4 separate regions of the Homo sapiens genome follow, and regions 1, 2 and 3 are each linked to region 4. Evidence: promoter capture Hi-C in 16 types of primary human blood cells and fetal thymus (Javierre and others, 2016). All regions are on one chromosome and are shown on one strand. The core of a region is centred on a gene start or on the middle of the fragment in contact, and the rest is flanking DNA. Distances in the headings are between cores, read along the strand shown.

Region 1 (3,079 bases), core at 159-2,658, 590 kb before region 4:
GGCTGCAGCCTTTGAAGAGCAGGAGAATGAGACAGTGGTGGTGAAAGAGAAGATGGTTGGCGGCATTGCCCAGGTGAGCTTCACCCCAGATGCTGAGGGACGCTGTCAGGAGGGCAGTCATGTTGCCTGCGCTGGTCCCAACTACCCTATGCCCCTGCTGTGCATCCTCACTGAACTAAGTCCCCGATCTCCACCCTCAGATCATCGCAGCACAGGAAGAAATGCTTCGGAAGGAACGAGAGCTGGAAGAGGCGCGGAAGAAACTGGCCCAGATCCGGCAGCAGCAGTACAAGTTTCTGCCTTCAGAGCTTCGAGATGAGCACTAAAGAAGCCTCTTCTATTTAATGCAGACCCGGCCCAGAGACTGTGCGTGCCACTACCAAAGCCTTCTGGGCTGTCGGGGCCCAACCTGCCCAACCCCAGCACTCCCCAAAGTGCCTGCCAAACCCCAGGGCCTGGCCCCGCCCAGTCCCGCAGTACATCCCCTGTCCCCTCCCCAACCCCAAGTGCCTTCATGCCCTAGGGCCCCCCAAGTGCCTGCCCCTCCCCAGAGTATTAACGCTCCAAGAGTATTATTAACGCTGCTGTACCTCGATCTGAATCTGCCGGGGCCCCAGCCCACTCCACCCTGCCAGCAGCTTCCGGCCAGTCCCCACAGCCTCATCAGCTCTCTTCACCGTTTTTTGATACTATCTTCCCCCACCCCCAGCTACCCATAGGGGCTGCAGAGTTATAAGCCCCAAACAGGTCATGCTCCAATAAAAATGATTCTACCTACAACCTCTGCCTGGCTTCAAGGGAGATACAAGTTTTCTCCCAGGGCAGTAGGAGAGACAGTGGGGTTGAATTCTGTCACCCAGCTTGATCCAGCTTGAAATGGGAGAGGGGAAGACTGGCAGTCTGCACCTGAGGTCCCTTCCTCCTTGCACCCGGACCCTAAAGTTATCCAATGGGGAAGTTGTGCCTGAGAAGTCATACTCCTGTTATCCTCACCTCCCTGGCCAGCACCTAAGCCTCACAAAGTGTCGTTCTGCTGCTGCTGGGACAGCAGCTACCACAGTTCCTTGTGGCTACCAGGACATTCTGTTCTTCATAGCTACTCAGGGTATGTCAACAAATCCAGTCCTTGACCAAATTCAAATTTTCAAAAGAAGCTTTGCTAAAAATAATATGCCTGTAAGTGTCTGAGCCTAAGAGAACTATGGCCACAAAACTGATTGAAGCCATTAGCAAGCAGAAAAATCCCAACTTGAGGCTGCCTCGGGTAGGCACCGCTCTTGATTGGGTTGGGACACTCCTGCCTAGGGTAGCGCTAAAAGTGAAGAGCTTGACCCAGGTGTGAGAATTTATTGTTAGAGGGGGCAGAGCTCCCCTAGTGGCCAGGAAGGTGCTAGCAGCCCTGTTCCAGCCACCCTGCTTATCTGGTGGGTCAGTGGAAAGAGGCAGTCAGAGAGGTGGATGCTGTGTGCTTCCACGTCCCCATCCAGCCACTCTGTCCATAATGCATGGACTCTCTGACAGTCGTCTTAGGTTGGCAACTATTTTCATGCGTGATTCTTTAGTCAGCCCTACCGCCCAGTACATTATTTCCTCAAGTAGAACACAAACGCCACCCATCTGCTACTAACACCTTCTACTCCCACCACATTAGGGAAAGCTTGAAGTAGATGGAATGTAGCTGGTAACGGTGGTTCGAGCCTCTAATCCCAGCTACTTAAAAGGCTGAGGCAGGAGGACTGCTTGAGACCAGGAGTTCAAGGCTGCAGTGAGCTATGATGGTGCCACTGTGCACCAGCCTGGGTGACGGAGTGAGAGCCCTTCTCTAAGAAAGTAGATGGAACTCTAGGACAGCCCATTAGGGATGGTGCCAACCTCCTACCATCACTCCTATCACCTGTGATTCATTCATTCAATATTTACTAAGCCATGCTTGTGCTAAGCACTGGAAAATTGAGATGTATTATCACTTCTCTGACGCAGAGGACTGGCAACTCCAGTACATACTGTGGGGGCTCCCTAATCCCAGATTCAATGTCATAGTATCAGTTGAGGACCTTGGAGATCAAATCCCTTCTATAACCTCCCCGACAAGTGGCAGTCTAGACTTTGAACTCCAGCTAGGAGCCCAGGACAGCTGCTTACTCCTGTTACCATTTCCTTGTCATGTCCTCAGGAACTGGGACCAATCACATACTTCTCACTAGTGATACCTTGGGAGCCATCTGGGGAGAGGCTTTAAAACCTATTAAACCAGCAGCTCTTCAAATGTGGTCCTCAGACCCCTAGGGTTCCCTAAGACCTTTTCAGGGGTCCATAGGTCAAAATTATTTTCATAAAAATACCAAGACATTATTTTCCTTAGCTGGGGATGGTGGTGCACACCTGTAATTCCCAGCTACTTGGGAGGCTGAGGCACCAGAATTGCTTGAACCTGTGATGCGGAGGTTGCAGTGAGCCAAGATCACGCCACTGCACTCCAGCCTGGGCAACAGAGCAAGACTCAAAAAAAATGTCCTTGATGAAGTAAAAAAAAAAAATTTTTTTTTTTTTTTGAGACGGAGTCTCGGTCTGTAGCCCAGGCTGGAGTGTAGTGGCGTGATCTCGGCTCACTGCAACCTCCACCTCCTGTGTCCCGGTTCAAGCAATTCTCCTGCCTCAGCCTCCCGAGAAGCTGGGATTACAGGCACATGCCATCATGCCCAGCTAATTTTTGTATTTTTAGTAGAGACAGGGTTTCACCATGTTGGCCAGACTGGTCTTGAACTCCTGACCTCATGATCTGCCTGCCTCAGGCTCCCAAAGTGCTGGGATTACAGGCGTGAGCCACCACGCCCAGCCTAAATGTATTAATTTAATTAAACCTTAATCCTTAAGGAAAAGGCTTTTCAACATTCTGTCTGATAAAGTGGGAAGTATGCATAAGACATTTTGCATACCAAAGTATGATGGTTTTCTGGAGGAAATAACTTAGGCCATTCTTTGAGTTGTGAGCTGAACTAGCTGCTCTTTTATGGAATGCCACGTTTACTCAAAAGAATGGCCGACAAACTGTGGTTATCAGATTTAGGTAGCTGGCAGA
Region 2 (2,857 bases), core at 358-2,857, 710 kb before region 4:
CAGACACTGGCCCTGACTCTGAGCTCAGCCCCTGTATTCCTCCAGGGTTCAGAAACCTGGTGGCAGATCGGGTCCCTAACTATACCTCCTGGAGTCAGCACTGCCCCTGGGAGCCCCAGAAACAACCACCTTGGGAATTTTTGCAAGTCTTAGAACCGGGTGCCCGAGGACTATGGAAACCCCCAGACATTAAAGGGAAGCTTATGGTTTGCTATGAAACTTTGCCGCGGGGCCAGTGCCTCCTCTACAACTGGGAGGAAGAGGTATTAAAGTTTTGGCCTGCTCCCTTTTCTTGAAGGCTGCCCTCAGTTTCTTAGGGGAGGCAGTAGTTTACATGAGGGTGGGTACCAGAAGGGATATTATAGTCATTCAACTTGGGATCCACAGAGAGCCACCAACCACCTGGATCAAGTCCCAAGCATGCAGGATGGCTCTGAGAGTTTTTTCTTCCGACACGGACACCGGGGACTGCTGACTATGCAACTAAAGTCACCCATGCCCTCCAGCACCACCCAGAAAGACTCGTACCAGCCACCAGGAAACGTCTATTGGCCACTTCGAGGTGTGAAATGTGAGAGGGTAGGCCAGAACGAGCCCATTACTCAGAGGGAAGAAGAGGAAGGAATTTCTGGTGGGGCTGTGGATTCTCCAGTGGATATAAGGGCGGAACCCCAAGGTTCTTCTTCCTTTTCTCAAGTTAGTTTCTTCTGGGCCTCCTTCTTAACCAGACCCCACCTTGCCCACCCCCCAACTCTCTCACAGGGAAGCGTGAAGCCATGCTGGAGATGCTCCTGCAGCATCAGATCTGGTAAGGGATTGGGTAAAGGGGAAGAGGGATGGGGAGGAGAAAAATTGGGTGAGAATGGCCTTGACACCCCTCGGGCTACATAGTAAAGAGGTGCAGGCAGAACAGGAACCCACAAGGAAGCTCTTCGAGGTTGAGTCTGTGACACACCATGACTACCGAATGGAGCTGGCACAAGCAGGGACTCCTGCCCCAACAAAGGTGAGAACCCACCCCCCATCCCCCGCCACTTGCACCAGCTGGGCTCTGACAGGCTGTGGCCAAGTACCAAGCCCAGAGGTTGAGAGAGAGGGCTGAAGGCCAGGAGTTACTCAGTACCCTCCCTCACAGCCTCACGACTACCGCCAGGAGCAACCTGAGACCTTCTGGATACAGAGGGCACCACAGCTGCCGGTGTGTGAGGGTGACTAGGTGTTGGGGGCAGAGCGGGGCAGGAAAGGTAGGGCAGAGTTGTTTTGTTCTGGCTTGGGGAGAGTGGGATCCATCCTCATCCTGGCACTCCTCCAGGGTGTCAGTAACATCAGGACATTGGACACACCATTCCGGAAGAACTGCAGCTTCTCAACACCAGTACCCTTGTCTCTGGGGAAACTTTTGCCCTATGAACCTGAGAATTACCCCTACCAATTGGGAGAAATATCTTCCCTTCCCTGTCCCGGAGGAAGGCTGGGTGGTGGAGGGGGGAGAATGACTCCTTTCTGAGGGGTGAGGAGGGAAGTGGGGTATGGAATATGGAATCTATTTCTGTCTGCACTAGAGAGGTCGGGAGGAAGTTAATTCTCACTGTACTTGAAGAGGCTTTACATAAAGGGTTCTCTCTCATCCCAAGACTGCTAATTTAGTGATTCTGTGAGTCACTGTGTGCATACCCCATAACCTTTCCTTGGGATTGCCCCTATCCCACACTATGACATCAGAACTTTTTTTATTATTGTTTTATATTTGACCAAAATATTCTGGTTTAGATACAGATATTTACAGAAAGTAGGGAGGAAGGGGACCAAGCCAGAGAGGGACAGGTATATGTACAGGGCTGAGCTGCAGAGGGCTACAACTTCCATATAAGGTAGGTTTTTTTGTGGCTGTTTTCCATTGCATATGAAAATGTCCATTTCTGGTGTGTGCAGACATGGTGGCCATTGCCCACCCAGGTACCAGCAGCAGAAGACTATCTGACTTGGAAAGAATGGGGGTTTACAGGAGTCCAGGAGGTCCTTTCCGCTCTCCTAAGAGCCAGTATGTTCGCATCTTTCCTTTTCCCTGGAAGTGGGAGAGTGGACATGATTCAGATGCTTCGATGTTAGTCCCTTTGTCTCCCTCTCTTTCCCTATGATTCCCATAATCACTTTCACCCTCCCTTTCCATGCCCCCCTCCCCATGGCCTGCCATCACCTTCATTTCCACATCCCCCCGAAGCTCTAGCTGGAAGCATCCTAGCTCATCTAGGGCATCCTTGGTGGTAGAGGAGACATGGATCTTCAGCGCTGGGGTGGGTGGAATGGGGAGGATGGTGGAATGAGGAATCAAAGAAAAGGCAATCAAATAATTGGTGATACTGTATAGCACCGTGCCCGACCAACCATCCCTGGGAAGCTCCCAATGCATATCTATTAGGACCAAAATATGCCCAACCTCCCAATGCATATCTATTAGAACCAAAATATGCCCGAGGATGCGACACTAAGGAACTGTGGTCTCTCAGATTAAGAAATTGGAGGGATTATGAAAAGAAGAAAAGGGCAAGATAAATTGAGGCCAACAGTGGGGTTGAGGGCTAATGTCTTACCTTGACCATTAGACTCCATTCGAGAAGCAGTGTTCACTGTGTCTCCAAAAAGACAATAACGGGGCATCTTCAGGCCAACAACCCCAGCACAGACTGGCCCTTTGAGAAGAAACAGGTTGGGAGAGTCTGGGAAAGGTGGAGACTAGGGCTGGAGTGAGAGTCAGCCTTACCAGTATGGACCCCTATGCGTAGCCTCAGCTGGTCATGGGGTCGGTGGCGGATGCGAAAGGAAGAAACTGCATCTAGTAATGCTAGGGCCATACGAG
Region 3 (3,083 bases), core at 426-2,925, 770 kb after region 4:
GTCGCCCAGGCTGGAGTGCAGTGGTGCGATCTCTGCTCTCTGCAAACTCCGCCTCCCGGGTTCGTGCCATTCTCCTGCCTCAGCCTCCCGAGTAGCTGGGACCACAGGCGCCCGCCACCACGCCCGGCTAATTTTTTGTGTTTTTAGTAGAGACGGGGTTTCACCGTGTCAGCCAGGATGGTCTCGATCTCCTGACCTCGTGATCCGCCCGCCTCGGCCTCCCAAAGGGCTAGGATTACAGGCGTGAGCCACCGCGCCCGGCCGCTACCATTTTTTAAGAAGTTACTACTCGCCAGGCGTTGTGTCAAGTGCTTTACCTTCATTATTTCACTTAATCTTCACAACAACCCGCTGAGGCATTACTGCCATTTTTCAGAAGAGTAGAAAGGGAACTATAGCTCAGAGATGTCTGGGTAAGTGACTCAAATGTAGGTCTGCCTGACTCCTAACATCAATGATCTTAACCTTAACTCTATAATAGCGTTTTACATTTGACAATTTGATTGCATTCAGTTTTTTTTTGTTTTGTTTTGTTTTTGAGACGGAGTCTCGCTCTGTCGCCCAGGCTGGAGTGCAGTGGCGCGACCTCCGCTCACTGCAAGCTCCGCCTCCTGGGTTCATGCCATTCTCCTGCCTCAGCCTCCCGAGTAGCAGGGACTATACGTGCCCGCCACGACGCCTGGCTAACTTTTGTATTTTGTTTAGTAGAGACGGGGTTTCACCGTGTTAGCCAGGATGGTCTCGATCTCCTGACCTCGTGATCCGCCCGCCTTGGCCTCCCAAAATGCTGGGATTACAGGCGTGAGCCACCGCACCCGGCCTGCATTGTTTACGCTGTCCCTTTTTTGTTTGTTTGTTTAAGGCGGTGGGGCTCTTGTTCGACTTTCTTTACTTCTGCTATAACTGCCACGATATTATCCATTCAATAACTGAAGCAATTAGAAAACATAAAATCTCTTTTGGAAAGCAGGCGGGGTTTAATGGGTAGCAACAAGTGAAACTGAGGCCCAGGGAGGGGAAGGTTCGGCGCCTGGGCCTCTGGGCCCTAAACCTGGACCTCTCCCGCCTCTGGGATTTGGACGACCCACCCTATCCCCACTCCGACGGGGACAAGCAAGGCTCAGAGTCAGGGAACCTCCCTTCTCCCGGTGCAGACAGGAAAACTGAGGTCCTGAGAGCGGATGGGACCTGGCCTGCCCACACCTCACTGCCAACTTAGAGGAGGGCGCATCCCTCTCGGGCCCTGCAGCGACCAGAGGTTTGCCAGAGGCAGATTCCCATCGCTCCAAGGCTCATTTCCTCCACTGAGAACTAAAATCAAGTGGGCCCTTAAGGGTACTCACCCGAAGCAGAAGGAGGTAGGAGGCGGACCTTGGACGGAAACTGAAGTACACCGGCCAATCAGAAGAGCCTGGTTACGCTTGGGCCCATCAATAGAATTCGGCAGAAGGATCTTCGACCCGCCTCAAAGGTGCGCGTCTCACACTGAAACGTCGCGAGATCTTCCCTCAAGCGGAACGATTGGCTGAAGGTCGGAAATTGAGAGTTACGCCCACGGTTTCTTCAGACCTCTGATTGGTCTTCCAGAGGAGAAGTCAACGAACGTCAACCGATTCCTTGGATGCCCATTGGTGGGCGGTGCGGGACTGGCGACGCGCGGGCCACAGCGCGGGCGTTCGAACTGGCGCTTGGCGGCGTTGCCATGGAGATGCGGCCTGGCCGCCGCCGGTGGCTCCCGGGTTGACGGGACTGTTAGGTTGCGGGCTTTGGGGCTCACTCCCGACGGCATTGTCTTCTCCTCTTCTCAGACAGGGCAGACCGAGGAGTTTGGACCGAGGTGAGAAAGGGCGGGGAGAATAGAGGAGGGGTAGGTCTGGTCCGGAACCGTGGCGCCTGCCCGCGGACACGGGTGCGCGTGACGTCGGCTGAGCGCGGGAGGAAACTGGCAGTTGTGAGGGAACCGAGAGTTGGCCCCTCTTGGCTCTTCCTAAAGTTCACCTACTTTCCTATCTTTCATCCCCATATCTCTGCCTTTTCTTCAGCAATTATCTTGAACGCCACTTCTCTCACTTTGGGAGACTAAACTCTTGAGTCCCAAAGCCTTCTTGCTTTTGAACCGATAAGCCTGACCGGCACCTCTTTTAGGGCATTTCTATTCGCCCTTGGGTTGTTTACTTCCGGGAAGCCCGTTCGCTTCCCTTTTCCCATAAAATTTTGAAGCCTTTGAGGTAAGGCAAGCATCGTTCACAATGTCTTGCACATAGTAGATTTTCAGGAAATATTTGTTGAGTTGAATTTAATTTACAAGAAATAGATTGGATTCCTCTTCATGCCCTGCCTTGTTGTCTCTCTGCTTCAGAGACGATTTTTTATTTCGAGGCTAGGGGGAGGCCACCCTAATCTTCAATGCAAAAGGACCTAAAAGTCCACACACAGTCCACAGCTGGCCTTTCTACTCTTTGTGAAAGGCTAAACTTTTTTGGATTGGTTGCTGCAACTCTTCCTGCATCTGTGGCTTTTAGCCTTGGTCTCCCAATAATTTTATTAGACTCCTTTTAGTCTTTGCTTAAAATAAACCATTCTGTTGCTGTATGCCAAGATAATTTATCTCCCTTTAGCTTCTTAGTGACCGGCAGCTATTGTCACATTTTAAGTGTGCTTTGGAAAATGTTTTAAAGCATCTTCTTTGTACTTGTATTCTACAAGTAGAGAGGCTTTGTAGTCTCTCTATTGAAGTGCATATAACAGCTGCTCAGGTGAACTCCATCTATTCATCAGGTGTCTATGATAGAATTGCGTTCCTAAGACTGTTTCGTTGTTAACTCATGGATTATATATTCACAGCCTGATTGTTGGTGTGATTGCTCCTTATATCAAATTCATAGCTCACTGGTGGCCTTAATAAAAGGAGTGAAAAAGTTCAGTACAGCAGCTATGTTCTTGTTACCCTTTTATAAAAGTTTGAAACACTACCTTATAGCTGTGACATGTAGTGGAAACCCACTACATGTGGGTTTGGCTTTGGCTCTGTCTCTGTCTCTAATTCACTGTGGGTGGCTTTGCAAGTCATTTAGTCCCTTTAT
Region 4 (2,999 bases), core at 460-2,959:
CCTCCCACACCTGATAATTGGCATCACTCCTCCCCGCTTCCCACTCTCAGATATTGCTCCAACCTCAGGAGTTGAAGAGGCTTATGCGGTGGGGGCAGGAGGAGAACTGCTTTCCCTCAGCTGAGGGAAGAGGGGCTATTCCAGAGGGACTGAGTCAGTAGCCAAAGACTCAGCTTCCCCTGTCCTTCCCCAGTCCCTTCACTTCCCCTACCCTCTGACCTATCTCTGAAAGCCAAGTTATGCGTATGTGTGTGTGCACAAGCTTGTCTTTGTGTGGTATGTGTGTGTGAGTGTGCATGTATGCACACACACAGGGGTTAACCACCCCTCACCTAGGGCTCCAGACTCCAGTTGTCCCTCTCCTCCTACCTGTGTCTCCTTGTTTTGGGGTCCTGACTGAAGAAGGTGTCCAGGGGGCAGAGTCAGGGCCAAGCACTGGGGTGCCTCCTCTCACCTGGCCAGACTCTGACCCACCTACCTCAGCTGGGGTGAGGGGCACCCCTCAAACTCAGTCATGTGGTTCCAAACTACCCCATTCCCCACTCCAGACTCTGACCCAGCCTCAGTCCTAACTCCTGGGGCTGGGCTGAGGGGAACAAGCATTTGCTGAAACTTGAAAAAACAAAGCAAATCAAAAACAGGAAAAAATTGTACCTGGTACTTTTTTTTAGAAAAAAAGATTAAAAAAGAAAGAATAAATTCTTGTTTGGAAACTTGAACTAAGCTCTACTTTTGTTGTTGTTGTTGTTGTTGGGGAGAGGGTGTGAAGGGGGATGGAGGGCCTTCCTGGAGCTGGGACTCAGCCCTTTCTACCAGAGAGGCAACAGGCCTGGGCCCATGAGGTCTTAGGCTAGTCCCTGCTGATTCCTGGGGCCTGGTTTTTCTCCTTTCGGAGGGGTTGGTGGGTAAAGTTCAGCCGTAGAAGCTGAACTCTGAATTGTAGATCAGGATTCTAATACTGGTTCTATTAATGACTTTAGCCCCTCAGAACTTCAGTGCCCTCATATGTAAAATGGAGGTGACTACGGAGGTCTCTTGACTACCAGAGCATTAGGGATGTGGGCAAGGTGACATGCTCCAGACAAGGTTGAACGTTGAGGCTGTTTGCTGGACTGTATTTAAGACCGGGCATAACAAACCTTGCTTGGGAAGACAGGGAAGGAGCTGCAGTGTCTTTGAGGAAAGAGGGGAGGGGAAAATCTCGGCCCAATCGCCAGGCAATATTAGGCCCAGTTTCCATGGCAACGGGATTGGGGTCAGTCCCCAGTGGGAGTCCTGGGCACAACACAGCGGGACTACCAGAGAATATCACTATGGCAACCATGGCAACGAGTCAGCTCCAATCCACTAGTCGCTATGGTGACAGATGGGGGCGATACTACGCTCTGGTGGGCAAACTGAGTCTCGGGTGAGGACGAATAATTCAGTGCGTGGTGTCTGAGTGATAATGCCCGCGAAAAATAGCCTCCATTTTGGCCATCAGGCCGGGGATCTTCGGCGTGAACAGCTAAACCCAGAACAACCACAGCCTTCGCCCTTCTCTAGAAGGTCTGCGTTTCCCAGGGAACAACTTGACGCGCCGTTCGACCAAGTAACGCTGATTGGGTGAGTGTTGAAGCGGGGGAGGGAGCTGCCGGAAGTACATCCGGGGGAGCGGAACTGCAAGAGGAAAGGCTCGGGTAGGCTTCTGGGAGCGACCGCTCCGCTCGTCTCGTTGGTTCCGGAGGTCGCTGCGGCGGTGGGAAATGCTGGCGCGCGCGGCGCGGGGCACTGGGGCCCTTTTGCTGAGGGTGAGAGCGAGGCAACCTTTCCAGAGGGTCAGGACAGAGATTACCTGGGTTCTCCGCTGGAAAAGAGCGAAATTCCAACTTTTGGAGAGGACTGGGGTCAGAGGTCATGGTCCCCATGTGATTCTCCGAGGATCCTGAGGGTCGTGGTTTATGGAGATGCCTTCAGGACCGAGGGGCGGCGTGTCTGGCCAGATGGGATCTCTGCTCACCCTCTTCTTTCCTTCAGGGCTCTCTACTGGCTTCTGGCCGCGCTCCGCGCCGCGCCTCCTCTGGATTGCCCCGAAACACCGTGGTACTGTTCGTGCCGCAGCAGGAGGCCTGGGTGGTGGAGCGAATGGGCCGATTCCACCGGATCCTGGAGCCTGTGAGAAACCTCTTCTGCCCACCCTGGGCCAGCCAGATGACCAATCCCTCACGACATGCAATGTCGGGAGGACTTCCTTTGGGCCTGCCCGCACTGTTAGCTCCCGACTCTGTAGGCCAGACCTGACAGGGCCCAGGCTGCTGACCATCATCCCCATGTTACCACCTTTTCCTATGCATCTCACAGGCCCCATTCTTGGGAATCTCCCCTGCCCACTCTCAGCCCTACCTCTCAGTCTGCATAGAGATGGCTATTCTGCTGGCTCCGATTCTCATGACTCTCCCCTCCATTCAGGGGCCTAGTCTTGCATTCCTGTTCTCTTGGGTTTTCTTACCAGTGACACCTCAGCCTTCTGAGGACTTATTTCTTGGTAGGAGCTGCTGCTTTTCTGGGCATGTTCCATGTGTTGACTCCCTACATACTCCAGGACTAGCTTAGGTCCCAACCCAATAGTTCCCAGCCTTCTGAGGACCCATGACTCCTCTTTCCAGGGTTTGAACATCCTCATCCCTGTGTTAGACCGGATCCGATATGTGCAGAGTCTCAAGGAAATTGTCATCAACGTGCCTGAGCAGTCGGCTGTGACTCTCGGTGAGGGGTTCAGGGTGACATGGGTGCTCTGAGGCTATTAGGATGTGGTTGCTGTAGATCCAGAGCTTAGTAGAAAGAACTGGTTGGGACCTAGAGGCCTGACTTTCCCCGTTTTCTCTCCTGGTTCTACAGACAATGTAACTCTGCAAATCGATGGAGTCCTTTACCTGCGCATCATGGACCCTTACAAGGTACCTGTCCCCTACTTTATCCAGCCTTTTGAGTTGCCCTCTTCACTAAAATCTTGTGCCCAA

Evidence for each region. The method cuts DNA at HindIII sites, captures the fragments that hold promoters and counts their contacts. A CHiCAGO score of 5 or more calls a contact.
Region 1: a fragment that was not itself captured here is called in contact with the fragment with the promoter of STOML2 in region 4 in 1 of 17 cell types (M2 macrophages); the score reaches 5.3 in M2 macrophages.
Region 2: a fragment that was not itself captured here is called in contact with the fragment with the promoter of STOML2 in region 4 in 1 of 17 cell types (naive CD8 T cells); the score reaches 5.3 in naive CD8 T cells.
Region 3: a contact is called between the fragment with the promoter of KIF24 here and the fragment with the promoter of STOML2 in region 4, in 1 of 17 cell types (monocytes). The highest score is 6.8, in monocytes.

What each region holds. Positions count from the first base shown.
Region 1 is chr9:35,695,038-35,698,116 of GRCh38, reverse strand. It overlaps TLN1 (talin 1), which reads left to right. Exons shown (of 57, transcript NM_006289.4): 56 at 1-73; 57 at 201-1,169. The coding sequence ends at 326. Among named protein-coding and RNA genes, the nearest start is that of TPM2, 6.7 kb to the right of the region's middle. The HindIII fragment of the contact is 503 bases long and covers 1,157-1,659 here.
Region 2 is chr9:35,808,588-35,811,444 of GRCh38, reverse strand. It overlaps NPR2 (natriuretic peptide receptor 2), which reads right to left. Exons shown (of 22, transcript NM_003995.4): 19 at 2,762-2,857; 20 at 2,592-2,690; 21 at 2,198-2,289; 22 at 1,714-2,065. The coding sequence ends at 2,000. SPAG8 (sperm associated antigen 8) reads left to right here. Exons shown (of 7, transcript NM_001039592.2): 2 at 1-263; 3 at 388-562; 4 at 763-808; 5 at 892-1,006; 6 at 1,136-1,198; 7 at 1,313-1,650. The coding sequence ends at 1,507. Among named protein-coding and RNA genes, the nearest start is that of SPAG8, 2.2 kb to the left of the region's middle. The HindIII fragment of the contact is 2,809 bases long and covers 203-2,857 here.
Region 3 is chr9:34,327,860-34,330,942 of GRCh38, reverse strand. KIF24 (kinesin family member 24) reads left to right here and starts at 1,675. Exons shown (of 13, transcript NM_194313.4): 1 at 1,675-1,837. NUDT2 (nudix hydrolase 2) reads right to left here and starts at 1,374. Exons shown (of 5, transcript NM_001161.5): 1 at 1,344-1,374. RefSeq lists enhancers at 1,429-1,618, 1,154-1,661, 1,749-1,848, 1,949-2,008. The HindIII fragment of the contact is 30,936 bases long and covers 1-3,083 here.
Region 4 is chr9:35,101,841-35,104,839 of GRCh38, reverse strand. STOML2 (stomatin like 2) reads left to right here and starts at 1,709. Exons shown (of 10, transcript NM_013442.3): 1 at 1,709-1,790; 2 at 2,017-2,154; 3 at 2,646-2,745; 4 at 2,878-2,936. The coding sequence starts at 1,746. ATOSB (atos homolog B) reads left to right here. Exons shown (of 9, transcript NM_025182.4): 9 at 1-723. It also overlaps a transcript of PIGO-AS1 not described here. RefSeq lists enhancers at 1,442-1,491, 1,612-1,661, 1,672-1,941, 2,072-2,331. The HindIII fragment of the contact is 2,738 bases long and covers 265-2,999 here.